4 separate regions of the Homo sapiens genome follow, and regions 2, 3 and 4 are each linked to region 1. Evidence: promoter capture Hi-C in 16 types of primary human blood cells and fetal thymus (Javierre and others, 2016). All regions are on one chromosome and are shown on one strand. The core of a region is centred on a gene start or on the middle of the fragment in contact, and the rest is flanking DNA. Distances in the headings are between cores, read along the strand shown. Region 1 holds the start of AKTIP (AKT interacting protein). Region 2 holds the start of SLC38A7 (solute carrier family 38 member 7). Region 3 overlaps CNOT1 (CCR4-NOT transcription complex subunit 1). Region 4 holds the start of SETD6 (SET domain containing 6, protein lysine methyltransferase).

Region 1 (3,124 bases), core at 310-2,809:
AATACCTATGTGGGTCCTCGGTGAAAACTGAAGGTTGGGGAAAGGAGGAAAGCAGAAAAAAAGCTTTGCAGAGGATAATGAGCTTCAAAGAAGATTGGGAGGAAATGGGCCACAGAGGTGCCAAAGGAGACCACCTGTGGCCTGAAAAAAGGATTTCCTGCTTGCCTGCCTTTCTGTATTAAGACTCGTATTAAAAGGCATGATAACATTCCTAAATGTGTCCTAAGGGGACAAAAGGAAGTGGCTCAGAAGTGTTTTCAGCTAGGGGAGGAAGCTGGGTTTCAGAACCAACCCTTGGGATTAACATCAGGAGAATTTGGCTTCCTGCCCTTTAATAAGTCACTTACCAGAATCTCAGAGGCAACCAAAAATGGACCAAACAACCCGGCCAGAGAATGCGGCTTCTGAGTGTAAGACACTGAGGCGGTGTCACAGACAGGTCAGTGCCTCTGGTGTCTAGAAAAGGGGCAGGGGCTTGCGGGGAGAGGGCTGTCGCGCAAGTGTGGAAGTGGAGTGCCGAGATTGGACGGACTAACCACGGGGAGGCACCGTTGGTAAGAACAGGCCTGGAAAGCAGCTGGCAGCAGTCACAGAATTAGGCCAGAGAGAGACCTCCATGGGAAAGCAGACGGGAGGTCCAAATGAGAGCGTGTGAATTAAAAAAAAAAAAAAAAAAAAAGACCAGGAACTATGTTGCTATGGGAGAGGTTCTCCAACTTCAGTGTGCGCCAGAATCAGCAGCGAACTGTGACAGATGTGGATTCCTGGTCCTCAGCCTCCCCCCTCCCCCCAGCCCCCGGCCCCCACTCGGATGCTGCAGGTCGGGGCCGACACACACAGATTTACAAAGCTCCTCTGGCTGCTCTAGTGCCCAGGGCCCACTTGGAGCTGAGCTCCCTTCAGCTCCAGCCTTCAGCTCCTGCACTGATGGAGAGAACGGGCGTTTCTTGATGCCACGCCAAGTGTCCTTCTGACCCCTGGTACCCTGTGGGCCCGACGTGGCGGCCTCGGGCCTCGCAGCGCCGCCCAACGCAGTAGGACCTAGCGATGGGAGCCACTGGGCAGTCGCGCGGCCCGGCCCTCCCCAAAAGCTTGGCTTGCAGACGTTAGCGTATGCCCCAGCCCCTGCGCATGGCGGTTGCGCTGTGGGCTGTGCGAATAAACCTCCGGGAAGGTCTCCGTGGTGACTGGCAGACGCCCTGGCCAATTGTGACCCGGCGCTTGTTTGTCTCTGCCCCATCCCTCCCCGGGGGGCCGATACTTCCATGACTGACAGGCCGTCCCAGGCGCTGTTACGTAAGGGGAGGGTCAAGTGCAGTCCCACCCAAACCGGGGTGATTTGATTTGCAGGACCGAGTGTGTTCTTCCCAACGCCCCCGGAAGAACGTCTTTGACGGGCAGGTGTGAGAGCCAGTTGGCGCCGGGAGGCCAGGCGGAAGCCTCGGGCCCCAGGATCGTGCAGCAGGGGGCGGAGCCCGCTGCCGAGGGCAGGGCAGGGCAGGGCAGGGCGGGGTGGGGCGGGGCGGGGATCAAGCAGGGGCAGGGCTGGCGCTGCGGCGGGAGATGCTGTCGGGCCGCGGCGGCGCTTGGCAGCCAGGAGCTCTGCATTGAAGGCACTGGGGTGAGGCTTACTGCCCGGCAGGCTGGTGGGTACGCGAGGGCTGAGGTGTCTGTAAATCTGGCCGCCAGCCTCCACGGGCCCGGCATTTGTCCATCTTTCTAGGCGCTCGCGACTCGGCGACGGCGGCCGCAGTGGGACACGGAGGCGGGGCCGGGCACCTGTGCGCGTTTGCAGGCACCTGCTGCGCTGGCCGCCTCGCAGCCCGGGACTGCTGCTGGGGACTGCGGCTGGAGCTGGGCTGGCCCGGCCCGAGGGAGAGGGGGGCCCAGCTGGCTCGCCCCGGCCCGTGCCCGCCCTCCCCGGCCGGGTCCCGACCCCGAGCTCTGGTTAAGGGGGCGTCGCCGGGCCCCAGAGCCCCCCCACTGGAGGGGCCCGCGGCTCCCGGGCCAGCATCGAGCTAGCTGCGAGGCCAGGACAGGGCCCCCGCCTTGCATCACCTCGAGACAGGTTTGTCCAGATTCCCTGAGTGCTCAGAGACGGGTTTCCGCCCGCGGTGAGGGTGCCGGTCCGAGGCCGCCGCGGGTCCCGGCTGTCCCCAGCGAGCCTGGCCCGGGCCGTTTTCATCTTTTTTTTTCTGGCCCCTGCTCTGTCTCCTCTTAACGTGTAATTTCTTAAGTCCGATTCGGGGTGATGTGAGTGCGCTGTGGCATGTAGAGTAACAGCAGCACTCATGTTTTAGCCTAGTTTTAGCTCTGCCACGCACTGTCATTCGCGCAGGCTGAAGACCCAGACTTCTCAGCTGGGTGATGTAAAGGAATGCAGCCGTGGCCAAACAGGCAGAAATTCTAAAATTGTTTCCAAGTGACAAGGATGTAACATGTCTTGCTTCCATCTATGTCATTCCTCTCAGAACATGTATGCTGTGCTTGTCCTAGACTAGACCCTGAAAAGTGTGCTACAGTTTCTCGTGATTATGTTGCTGCTGGAAACATTGGATTAAAAGATCCATAGCAAAGTTAGGCAGCAGAAGACAATACCTCCTGCTTAATGACAGGCAGAACTGGGGACAAAATTTACTGGATTCTTAAAGAGAATCCTAACGCGTTAGACCTTTAAGAGACTTTACAGGTTTGCACCAGCCCATTAAATGTATGTTGTGGAGCACACCACTGTGTCCCAAGGGATCCGGTCCCGTGTTAGGTGTGTCCTAGAGGACACTGGGGTGCTGCACATTACTGCTAGATCTGAAAATCAGTGTCTTCATTTGAGCCAAAGGGGAACATGCCCCCGCACATTTTTGATATCTCAAGTATATTCAGTGTGTCATACTCACCTTTAAAGGCAGATTTGCGGAGAACTGTTGTTACTTATTGCATGTTATCCATGCTAGTAGAAGAGCCAGGATCTTCATTCCTCTGATTTAATTACTGGGTGGCATTTTCTCTTGGAAAACAAAACAGCAGTAATGGGCACTGGCAAGGTATGGATGACCTGGGTTGGGTACGTCCCTGGATGTCACAAGCTCGTCAGAGAAGACAAATTATTGCTGATTGGGGACATTTA
Region 2 (3,124 bases), core at 300-2,799, 5.2 Mb before region 1:
TAATAAAATAAATAAAAATAAGAGAGAGTTTACTTTCCCTCTCTGCTTTCCGCAATGTGAGGACACAGCAGGAAGATGGCCATCTGAAAACTATGAAGATGGTCCTCCCCAGAACTTGACTCTGCTGGCATTCTGACCTCAGTCTTGACAGCTTCCAGGACGGTGAAAAATAAATCTCTGTCGTTTAAACCACCCAGTCTATGATACTCTGTTATAGCGGCCTTAACTGATTAAGACAGTATGATTCTATTTTTTTTTTTTTTTTTGAGACAGAGTCTCACTCTGTCTCCCAGGCTGGAGTGCAGTGGCACGATCTCTGCTCACCGCCACCTCCGCCCCCCGGGTTCAAGTGATTCTCCTGCCTCAGGCTCCCGAGTAGCTGGGACTACTGGCGTGCACCACCATGCCCAGCTAATTTTTGTATTTTTAATAGAGACAGGACTTCGCCATGTTGGCCAGGCTGGTCTCGAACTCCTGACCTCAAGTGATCAGCCCGCCTTGGCCTCCCAAAGTGCTGGGATTACAGGTGTGAGCCACCGCACTCAACCAGTATGATTCAATTTATATAAACTTTTTGGAGGCCAGGCACGGTGGCTCATGCCTGTAATCCCAGCACTTTGGGAGGCTGAGGTGGGTGGATCACTTGAGGTCAGGAGTTTGAGACCAACCTGGCCAACATGGCGAAACCCCATCTCTACTAAAAATACAAAAATTAGCTGGGAGTGGTGGTGCATGCCTGTAATCCCAGGTACTCGGGAGGCTGAGGCAGGAGAATCACATGAACCCGGGAGGCAGAGGTTGCAGTGAGCAAAGATCGTGCCACTGCACCCCAGCCGGGGAGACAGAGTGAGACTCTGTCTCAAAAAAAAAAAAAAAAAAAAAAAAAAAAAAGGTGTGATTTGGGTTTCTAAGGATTCCCAGTGTGTCCTCATCGGTGAGGACCTCTGATGCATGGAGAGGTAAGTGCAGTGGAGAGCATATCCACAAAACAGAGATGAGGCTATTGGGATGCTGGAGATTACGTGACAATTTATGAGTGACACACAGCCAAGAACAGAACCAGGACTGGATGCCCATTTCGTCATTCAACAAATATTTACTGAGCACCTACAATCCCTCAAAAACTGTTCTAGAGTCTAAACCGATGGGGTCGTAACCATGCCCCCAGCCCACTCCCTTGCAGGAAAGACCGTGGCTCCAGGTCCCCCACATTACTGATTAAAAAAAAACTCCAGTGCTCTGGCCATGGGCGTGAAGGCAAGGACAGAGACCGGGAGGATAATGAGGCCAAACAGCTTTGGCCCACCGCCACCGGGACTGGCAAAGAGGCCAGACCTCCTAATGCTCTTCCTTGGAGGAAGGAGCAGTGTTTGATTTGGTCAAGAGGCCAAGACTAAAAGTAAGAGGATAAACACGAGCTGGCTGGACGCGAGGCTGGCTCAGGGCAGTGCTGTCGGGCTGAGGATTCAGGGAGCTGGTGTTGTCCAAGCTTCACATTTGCGGAAACTACAACTCCCAGCGTGTCCCGCGGCCGCCCGAGCGGGCGTCATGTGATGCATGCTCACGTGTCTCCGCAGCCGGCTCGGGAAAGAATCCCCCAAGGTAGGTGGCCGGAGACAGGCTCTGGAGGGTGGAAGTGTTAGATCCCCGAGGTCTGTGGAGCCCCTCAGTCCCCGCCACCGCGGAAAAGCTCAGACCCTTTCCCTGCAGGGGTCCAGATCCTGGCGTCCTCGCCCCACGCCCGTCCCTCTGTTGCGCCAGCTCTGCCGCGCCTTTACCCAGCCAGAGGGTCTCCACCCAGTCCTAGGCCGGGATCGGGTCCCGGAGCTCCTCCCCAGGTTACCCCACAGTAGCCCACCCTTCTCGCTCCAGGCCTGGGAATCGCCCCGCCCCGGCCTCCTGGCCCGGGTGCGCCCTGGCTCACCTCACAAAGCCTCACCTCACAAAGCAGCCCACCCTTTCTATCTCAGGGCTCCAACCCCAGGCTGGACTGGGAGCACACTCCAGTTGGGATCTGAGGGGCCTACATCGCTGGCCTGAGCATGTGGGCATCAGGCTTCTATTCTGGCTCTGCCAGCTACCCACTGTGACCTTAGTCTAACCTCTCCCTCCTGGGCCTGTTTTCCTATCTGTCCTGAAGCTCCATTTCATGAGTAAGCGTGAGAGCCGCTCAGTTTCCTCCAGCTCTGCTGAAGCCAGCACAGAAGTAGCCCAAACTCTTCCCTCTGCTGACAGCAAATTTTAGGCAAAGTCTTGAGAAAGAAGAAATTGGGTCCAGAAAGGGAAGTGAGGAGAATCAGATCCCAGACCTTTGGGGAGAAGGAGCAACCGCCTCTGGCACAGCCCATCAGGGAGAAAGAGCAGGTAAGGTGCAACAATGAGCTGAGTAATTTGCCAGTGAGCAGTGGGGGTGCCGAGAGGTCTTAACCAAGGCAGAGAATCTGCAAGAGGTGGGACCCCCAGCTTCTGAGTTCCACGAGGACCCCAGCCTGCACTCTCATGTGGGTGGCAGGAGAGGCTGGAGGATGGTGCAGGACTCGGGCAGGGGTGCCCAAGGGAAACATTTTGGTTGGAGAGTCAGGAAGCCGCACCAAGCCTTGTGACCTTGGACGAATCACTCTGTAGACCTCTGTCTCTGTGACGTGAGCAGCGGGGAGGAGATGGTCACAGCTCTGGCAGTGGTCACTTTGCAGGGTTCTTTCTCTAGCTACACTGGAAGCCTGGGAGTCCCAAGACTCTGCCTTCGCTGCTCACTGCTTTGATTTTGCTGAGTTGCTGGTTGGGTGACAGGATGTGTAAGAGGATGTGTAAGCCCTGTGACATCTGACAGATCTTTCTGGGTTTCGAGCCAGCAGAGGAATGTTTCCTCTGGTGCCATGTCCCTTGGTTCCATGCTTGATAACAGATGGCTGAGAGCACATGAACTTTCACCCTTTCCCTCTCATGAGTGGATGGTCCCCAGCTTTGTTTGTCCATCATCAGGAGGAGCAATGGGAAGTAGTCCAAGGGGTCTTGTTAGTCATTTTAAACCCCCAGTGGGCTGAAGGCATCAGAGAGGGTGGCCCAATGGTTAGGGCAGTCATTATGGCTGAATATGCTCAGTTCCCTTTTTTTCCCTCTGGGC
Region 3 (3,124 bases), core at 467-2,966, 5.1 Mb before region 1:
GTCAGCTTGGGAACGCGAGAGCCGGTGGGAGGAGGAACAGGGGTGGACCTGGGGCCACTGGAAGCGTTTCCCGGAGCTCTAGGGAGTGAGAGGCAGCCGGGACGGGGAAGTGGGACGAGGCGGGAGAGGGCGGACTCTTCTCCACACGGCTCTCGGAGGCTTCGCGCTCTGAAGATGAGAGGCCAGCGAGAAGGCTCCAGGAAGCGGAGGGTAGAGCGCGGGGTGAGACCCATGGTGGTCTCTGTCCCGGGCCTGGAGGCTCAGGGGGCGGCAGCGGCGGCAGTTCGTGTCGCTGGGCCTGGCTTCGCGCGGGTTGCACCCCTCTGAGACCTCCACGACCTCCTTAACTACTGTTTCTGTCTCTGCTCCCTGATGGTTGCAGTGGGCATCGGCTTCCGAGGCCTAGGGCTTCTGGCGGGGGGGACCGTGTTTGGAGTTTTTGCATGTTTCCAGTTCTTCTCCGTGTACTCGGAGCTGCCACTCTCCCCGTCTTACGCCCCCAGCACGTTGTCAAAGCCCCCCAGGTTTCGGGTGTCCCCGGATGGGAAGGGCGGGCGGGAGCAAGCACTTCCTTATTACTTGCTACAGGTTTTGTTCCACTCGCGCGCCTGGGCGCTCACACTTTCTTTGAAGTTGGCCCCCACCTACTCGGTCCGGTGTCTGCAGTAGTGGCGGTCCTGCTCACCCAGGACAAGTGTCCCGCTAGTGAGCTGAGCACTTGTAGGCCTCAAGGCTGATAAGATCCACGGCAGGTCTTGTAGAGGTACTTAAGGCCAAACACAAATAATACTTTTTCAGTACCACCTCCTTTGCAGAATTCACCCAAGAGGGCTCACAGATACTAACTCCCCGAGGAGTAAGCTTTGTAGATTAAAAAAGAATGCTTGACATCTGTGCGTTTGAAAATGTTGTATTTAAAATAAACTTTATGACAAACTTTTCCCATGAAGTTAATCAAATGTCACATTTCTTAGGACTCTAATAAAGTCTGTTTTCTTCCTGAAAACTGAGTAACAATGCTTAACCTACCCTGCCGATTTCTCTACAATTCGATAGCCTGTGACTACTTGGGTTTTTTTTTTTTTTTAAGTCAGTGATTGAGTGAATATAATTATACTGTTTGAAACAATGCCGAACGTTTTCCTTATGACAGCCCCTTTGATAGGAATAGGGAATACATGGATTAAAAAAATGAGGGAAGGCAAGTAAAATATTAGGAGGAAGGTCAAACAGATTAAGAACAATTTTTTTCTATAGGTACTTGGGTTTAATACTTAAGTGATCTGTGGTCCCGGTTGGTATTCCTACCCTTTTAAAGATTGGCAGCAGAGTATTTTAGCTATTAAGAAGACATGTGGTAACAGTTTAAATAATTATGTTTTAGGATACTGCAAATTGTTACCTTGTCTAAGGAGAATATGCATTGATGATACATGGTTTTAGGTGGCTAGCTGTGCTTTGACTGAAATGATAGCATGTTGATAAAACTAGTTTGGAGAGTTAGTTCCTTTTCAACAAGTGTGGGTTCCCCAAGTCTTAGTGGAAACAAGTCTAGAATCGACTGGGCGCGGTGGCTCACGCCTGTAATCCCAGCACTTAGGGAGGCCAAGGTAGGTGAATCACCAGAGGTCAGGAGTTCGAGACCAGCCTGGCCAACATGTCACAACCGCGTCTCTACTAAAAATACAAAAATTAGCCGGGCGTGGTGGCAGGTGCCTGTAATCCCAGCTACTTGGGAGGCTGAGGCAGGAGAATTGCTTGAACCCGGGAGGCGGAGGTTGCAGTGAGCCGAGATAGAGCTACTGCACTCCAGCCTGGGGGACGGGGAGACTCCGTCTCAAAAAAAAGTCTAGAATGAAGGCGCAAAGACATGTCTATTTGTAACTGAAAATATTTCCTTTTCTTACCTAAGATTGTAATCTTAGAAGTTTTAAGGTACGGTTTTGTGGCATTACGGTGGAAAAGAATTGAAATGTGCTCTTTTTGGTTCCCAGCTTAACACCCCGGGTTCATTTTCTTTTTTTCTAGTTTCTGAATTTCTCTTCGGGGTTTAGATCCTAGTCTCTTTAACATAGATGTTGTCAAGCTAAATAATAAGACATCCTTCTTATTTGGAGTCAAGTCATTAAAAAAAGCTATGAAAACAAATGGAAATGCTTGCCATCTTTTCAAAACATGCTTTAAAGTCTGATTTCAAATTACCTTGCATGTTACTTTTTCTGAGTATGTTTTAGGATAGATTCTGATCTGGTTATGAGAAACTTTTTTTTTTTTTTTTTTTTTGAGATGGAGTCTCGCTCTGTCACCAGGCTGGAGTGCAGCAGCACACAATCTCGGTTCACTGCAACCTTTGCCTCCAGGGTTCAAGCAATTCTGCCTCAGCCCCTCGAGTAGCTGGGACTACAGGTGCCCGCCACCACACCCAGCTAATTTTTGTATTTTAATAGAGACAGGGTTTCACCATGTTGGCCAGGATGGTCTCGAACTCTTAACTTCATGATCCACCCGCCTCACCCTCCCAAAGTGCTGGGATTACAGACGTGAGCCACGGTGCCCAGCCGAGAAGCTTTCTTTTTAACCAGTTTGAATTTATGAACTTGATTATTTCTTTCTGTGTAATAACAAACACGTCTTTGGTACCCAATACCAGAGAATGGAATTTGTCCACAATAATTCTAATTGAGTGCTGTCATATTTTGGGACTAATTTTTTTGGCCCAGGCAAGTGGCTCAAGCCTGTATCCTAGCTTTTTGGGAGGATGAGGGAGGAGGATGCTTGAGACTAGGAGTTAGAGACCAGCCTGGGCAACATGGTGAGACCCTGTCTTTACAAAAAAGAAAATTAAATTAAAAAAAAATTTTGCAAAATATTTGTTATGAGTATTTTGTCCCACATTAACAAAAATAGTAGTCTGCCTTTTTTTTTTTGAGACGGAGTCTCACCCTGTTGCCCAGGCTGGAATGCAGTGGTGCGATCTCAGCTCACTACAACCTCCGCCTCCTGGGTTCAAGCGATTCTCCTGCCCCAGCCTCCCAAGTAGCTGGGATTACAGGCGCGCACCACTGCACCCAGCTAATTTTTGTATTTTTGGTAGAGACGGGGTTTCACTATGTTGGTCAGGCTG
Region 4 (3,124 bases), core at 205-2,704, 5.0 Mb before region 1:
TGAATCATGCTCAATCAGTGCACCAAGAGAAACTCCACTCACCGCAGAGTATTCTAGATTGGCGTTGTGATTGGCTAAGTGGTTTAGTATGTCTGCAGCAGGCACCATCACGGGGGAGTTGGGCTCCTTTTCATCCTCTTCTTCCTCCAGTGGTTCCTGAAAGCTGCCATTGACAGAACCTGGCTAAGGCCCTGTCTTGGGTGAGGGACTGGGGGTGGATTTCACTGTTTTTCCACTTTTGTCCCTCTATAGAGTTGTAAAGAAAAGGGTTCCGTCCTCAGAGGCCCCACCCACTGACCTATAGGCCATCACAAGGGCCACCAGCTGGTGGTAGAGTTCTAGGGAGCGAACCCTGAGGCTGAAGAGATCGGGGTGGGCTTCCATGAAGGGCAGCACGATGGACTGGTACTCGCTGCGGATGTTGGCCAAATCCTTCTCCACGGCCTCAGGTACGCCTGTGCCCTGGAGCAGGCACCGGCGCTCCTCCTCTGGCCTGCAGGGACACCCACACCCAGGTTCCCTTCATTCCTTCACACACTTTACTGGGTAGGACTGGTGCAGGGGCGGGGAAACTTCTTGCAGCAGGCTACGGTGCAGGCGCTCCCCAACCCCTCCCAAGGCTCTCACCAGAACATCGGGTGCTCCAAGCGGCCCAGCTCGGGCCAGAGCGCAAAGTAGGGCCTCCAGCGTGAGGCCGGGGCCTGCAGCTCGTGGAGCAGCGCCAGCAGCAGTGGCACCCAGCCCGACTGGCTCTGCAGCGCAACTCGCTCTGAGGAAGACACAGGTGTGAGCGCCCCGGCGCGGCCTCGCGGGCCGGGCCCGCCCCGCCCCGCCCCGCCCCGCCCCAGGGCCCTAGCCCGCCGCCGTGCCCACCTCGCTCCAGCAGGCCGCCGATGGAGCAGGTGTGCTGCGACAGGAGCGCGGCCCGCGGCACCACGAACAACAGCTCTCCGGCCTGCACGCTCTCCCGGGCCACCATGCCGTAGCCGGCCACCGTGCCCTGCCGGCTGACCGCCACCTGAGCAGGAGGGCTGGTCAGGGCAGCCCGCGCCCCGCCGCGGGTCCTCCGCCCGCCGGCTCGCTCGCTCACCTTGGGACTCAGCTCCAGCCCCACCCGCCGGCACCAGCTCAGGAAGCAGGCCACAGGATCCAGGTCGCCGCCGTCCACGGGCCCCGCCACCTGAGATAAGTGCGCGCAGTGACCAGGTCCGACCCCCAGAGAGGCCGCTGGGAACTGCAGGAGACCGCGGCGCGAGCGCAGAACGGGCTTTGGGTGGAGGAGGGGACGAGCGGAGAGGGGCGCGGGACCCGCGGGAGGGAGCGGAGGGGGCGCAGGCGGACGGTTCTGCGAACGGAGAAGGGGTGAGGCGCGGAGGAAAAGGCTGGACCCCGCGCCCGCCACTCACCCGTGGACGCTTCGCCTGGGTCGCCATGGTCTAAGAGCGCGTTTCCTCGCGGGCCGGCGCACCGCGCGGTCACTTCCGGCGTCTCTGGCCCCGCCCCGGCGCCGGAACCACGTGGTGCCTGTTTTGTCGTCCACGCTGCAGACTGGCCGGAGTTACCGCGGGCTGGAATCGTTCCTCATGAAAACATCTTGAGTCCAGGATCTCCAATTGCACTCACGCGCTGCGAGTGCAGAAGGAGAGTCCCGTGCCGCTTGGCGCCTGGTTCTGAGCCAGGTACAGCCCTGGCCTTCGGTCTGTCCCCGAGGGCTGAGGCTTCTTGCGGTCTGGGTGCAAGAACAAAATACGGTTTCTGGATCGGAAGCCGAGGGTCTGGTGGCCGGCCGGTGGTGAGCGACGCAACTGGGCGGCGAGCGACCTCCTGATCTCGACCCCTTGTTGCCGATGGCCATGGAACCCTTTTACTGGTGGTATTCGTTCAGAGCAGTTTTCGTGTGTGTTTCAGAGTGGCGTGGCCTAGAGGGCTCCTGGATCTAGAATAGATCCTCTCTGCCCTTATTTGCCAGTACATCCTCGTTTTTAATCTGCTGCATAGCACGTGGTGGGTTTTATTAGCTGACATAGTAGGGACTCAATATCTACCTATTGGGTAAATAAATGAATAAAACAAATGGTGGTTAAACCTGGGGAAGTAGCATGCTGTTAAATGTAAGAAAATGAGGCTGTGAATATAGAGGTTACAGGAATGGGTTTTGAAGCCAAGCAACGCCGCAGCTCAACACTCAGTTTTTTTTTTTTTTCCTTTTTTTTTTTTTTTTTTTTGGCGCGTTGGGGAGACGGGAGTCTCGCCCAGGCTGGAGTGCAGTGGTGCGATCTCGGCTCACTGCAACCTCCACCTCCCGGGTTCAAGCAATTCCCCTGCCTCAGCCTCCCAAGTAGCTGGGACTACAGGCGTACGCTGCCATGCCCAGCTAATTTTTTGTGTTTATTTTTAGTAGAGTCGGGGTTTCACCGCGTTGCCCAGGCTGGTCTCGAACTCCTGAGCTCAGGCAATCCCCCCGCCTCGGCCTCCCAGAGTGCTAGGATTACAGGCGTGAGCCACCGCGCGCGGCCTGGTCTGTTACTCAGGCAAATCCTTTTTCCTGAACCTTAGTCTCCTCACCTGCGAAACTAAGATAATACCTACTCTGTAGAATTAATGTAAGGATTGGTATGTTGACTAAAGAAAAAATATTAAGCTTTTAAATAATTAAAATTAGTTTTATTTAGAAGCCTTATTGAGGACTATAGACTGAGGCCTGTAGCCCAGGAGTAATCTTGTGAGGCTCCTCTAACACGGTATTTTAGTTTAGGTTATACATAGGTGAAGATTTAGTATGTGTAAAATCATATCAAAGTTTAGGGATAAGTATATCTGGTTATAGATTGCAGAGTATAATCATTAACCCTGTCAGACATGATCGTATGTTTAGGAGAAGGCAAAGAGTAGGTCATTTATCTTTGAAGGAATGTAGTGACTCAGGCAAGAGATTTGGAGGGCAGGGGTGTTTTGTTTTGTCTTTAAGGCATTTTTTTCTGGAGAGCTGTATTTTGTTTTTTTGTTTTATTTTGAGGCAGAGTCTTGCTCTGTCATCCAGGCTGGAGTGCAGTGGCACGATCTCCACTCACTACCACCTCTGCCTCCTAGGTTCAAGCGATTCTCCTGCCTCAGCCTCCCGAGT

Evidence for each region. Contacts are between HindIII fragments. The CHiCAGO score rates a contact against its expected background, and 5 or more counts as called.
Region 2: a contact is called between the fragment with the promoter of SLC38A7 here and the fragment with the promoter of AKTIP in region 1, in 2 of 17 cell types (M0 macrophages and monocytes). The highest score is 10.8, in M0 macrophages.
Region 3: a contact is called between a fragment that was not itself captured here and the fragment with the promoter of AKTIP in region 1, in 3 of 17 cell types (activated CD4 T cells, fetal thymus and total B cells). The highest score is 7.8, in activated CD4 T cells.
Region 4: the fragment with the promoter of SETD6 here is called in contact with the fragment with the promoter of AKTIP in region 1 in 1 of 17 cell types (monocytes); the score reaches 7.5 in monocytes.

The regions. Positions count from the first base shown.
Region 1 is chr16:53,501,644-53,504,767 of GRCh38, reverse strand. AKTIP (AKT interacting protein) reads left to right here and starts at 1,559. Exons shown (of 10, transcript NM_022476.4): 1 at 1,559-1,621. LOC124903690 (a long non-coding RNA gene) reads right to left here and starts at 388. Exons shown (of 2, transcript XR_007065069.1): 1 at 348-388; 2 at 1-27. RefSeq lists silencers at 392-481, 1,202-1,441, 1,462-1,531, 1,792-2,091 and enhancers at 802-901, 1,362-1,861, 1,862-2,363. The HindIII fragment of the contact is 2,307 bases long and covers 1,094-3,124 here.
Region 2 is chr16:58,683,195-58,686,318 of GRCh38, reverse strand. It overlaps SLC38A7 (solute carrier family 38 member 7), which reads left to right and starts at 1,549. Exons shown (of 12, transcript NM_018231.3): 1 at 1,549-1,602; 2 at 2,141-2,364. RefSeq lists enhancers at 1,763-1,822, 1,333-2,177. The HindIII fragment of the contact is 5,837 bases long and covers 1,492-3,124 here.
Region 3 is chr16:58,626,563-58,629,686 of GRCh38, reverse strand. The region is part of intron 1 of CNOT1 (CCR4-NOT transcription complex subunit 1); the gene reads left to right. Among named protein-coding and RNA genes, the nearest start is that of CNOT1, 1.7 kb to the left of the region's middle. RefSeq lists enhancers at 1-107, 108-784. The HindIII fragment of the contact is 1,705 bases long and covers 864-2,568 here.
Region 4 is chr16:58,513,847-58,516,970 of GRCh38, reverse strand. It overlaps SETD6 (SET domain containing 6, protein lysine methyltransferase), which reads right to left and starts at 1,454. Exons shown (of 8, transcript NM_001160305.4): 1 at 1,407-1,454; 2 at 874-1,180; 3 at 628-769; 4 at 299-493; 5 at 43-163. The coding sequence starts at 1,433. It also overlaps a transcript of NDRG4 not described here. RefSeq lists enhancers at 400-569, 1,610-1,779 and a silencer at 830-1,489. The HindIII fragment of the contact is 14,988 bases long and covers 1-2,643 here.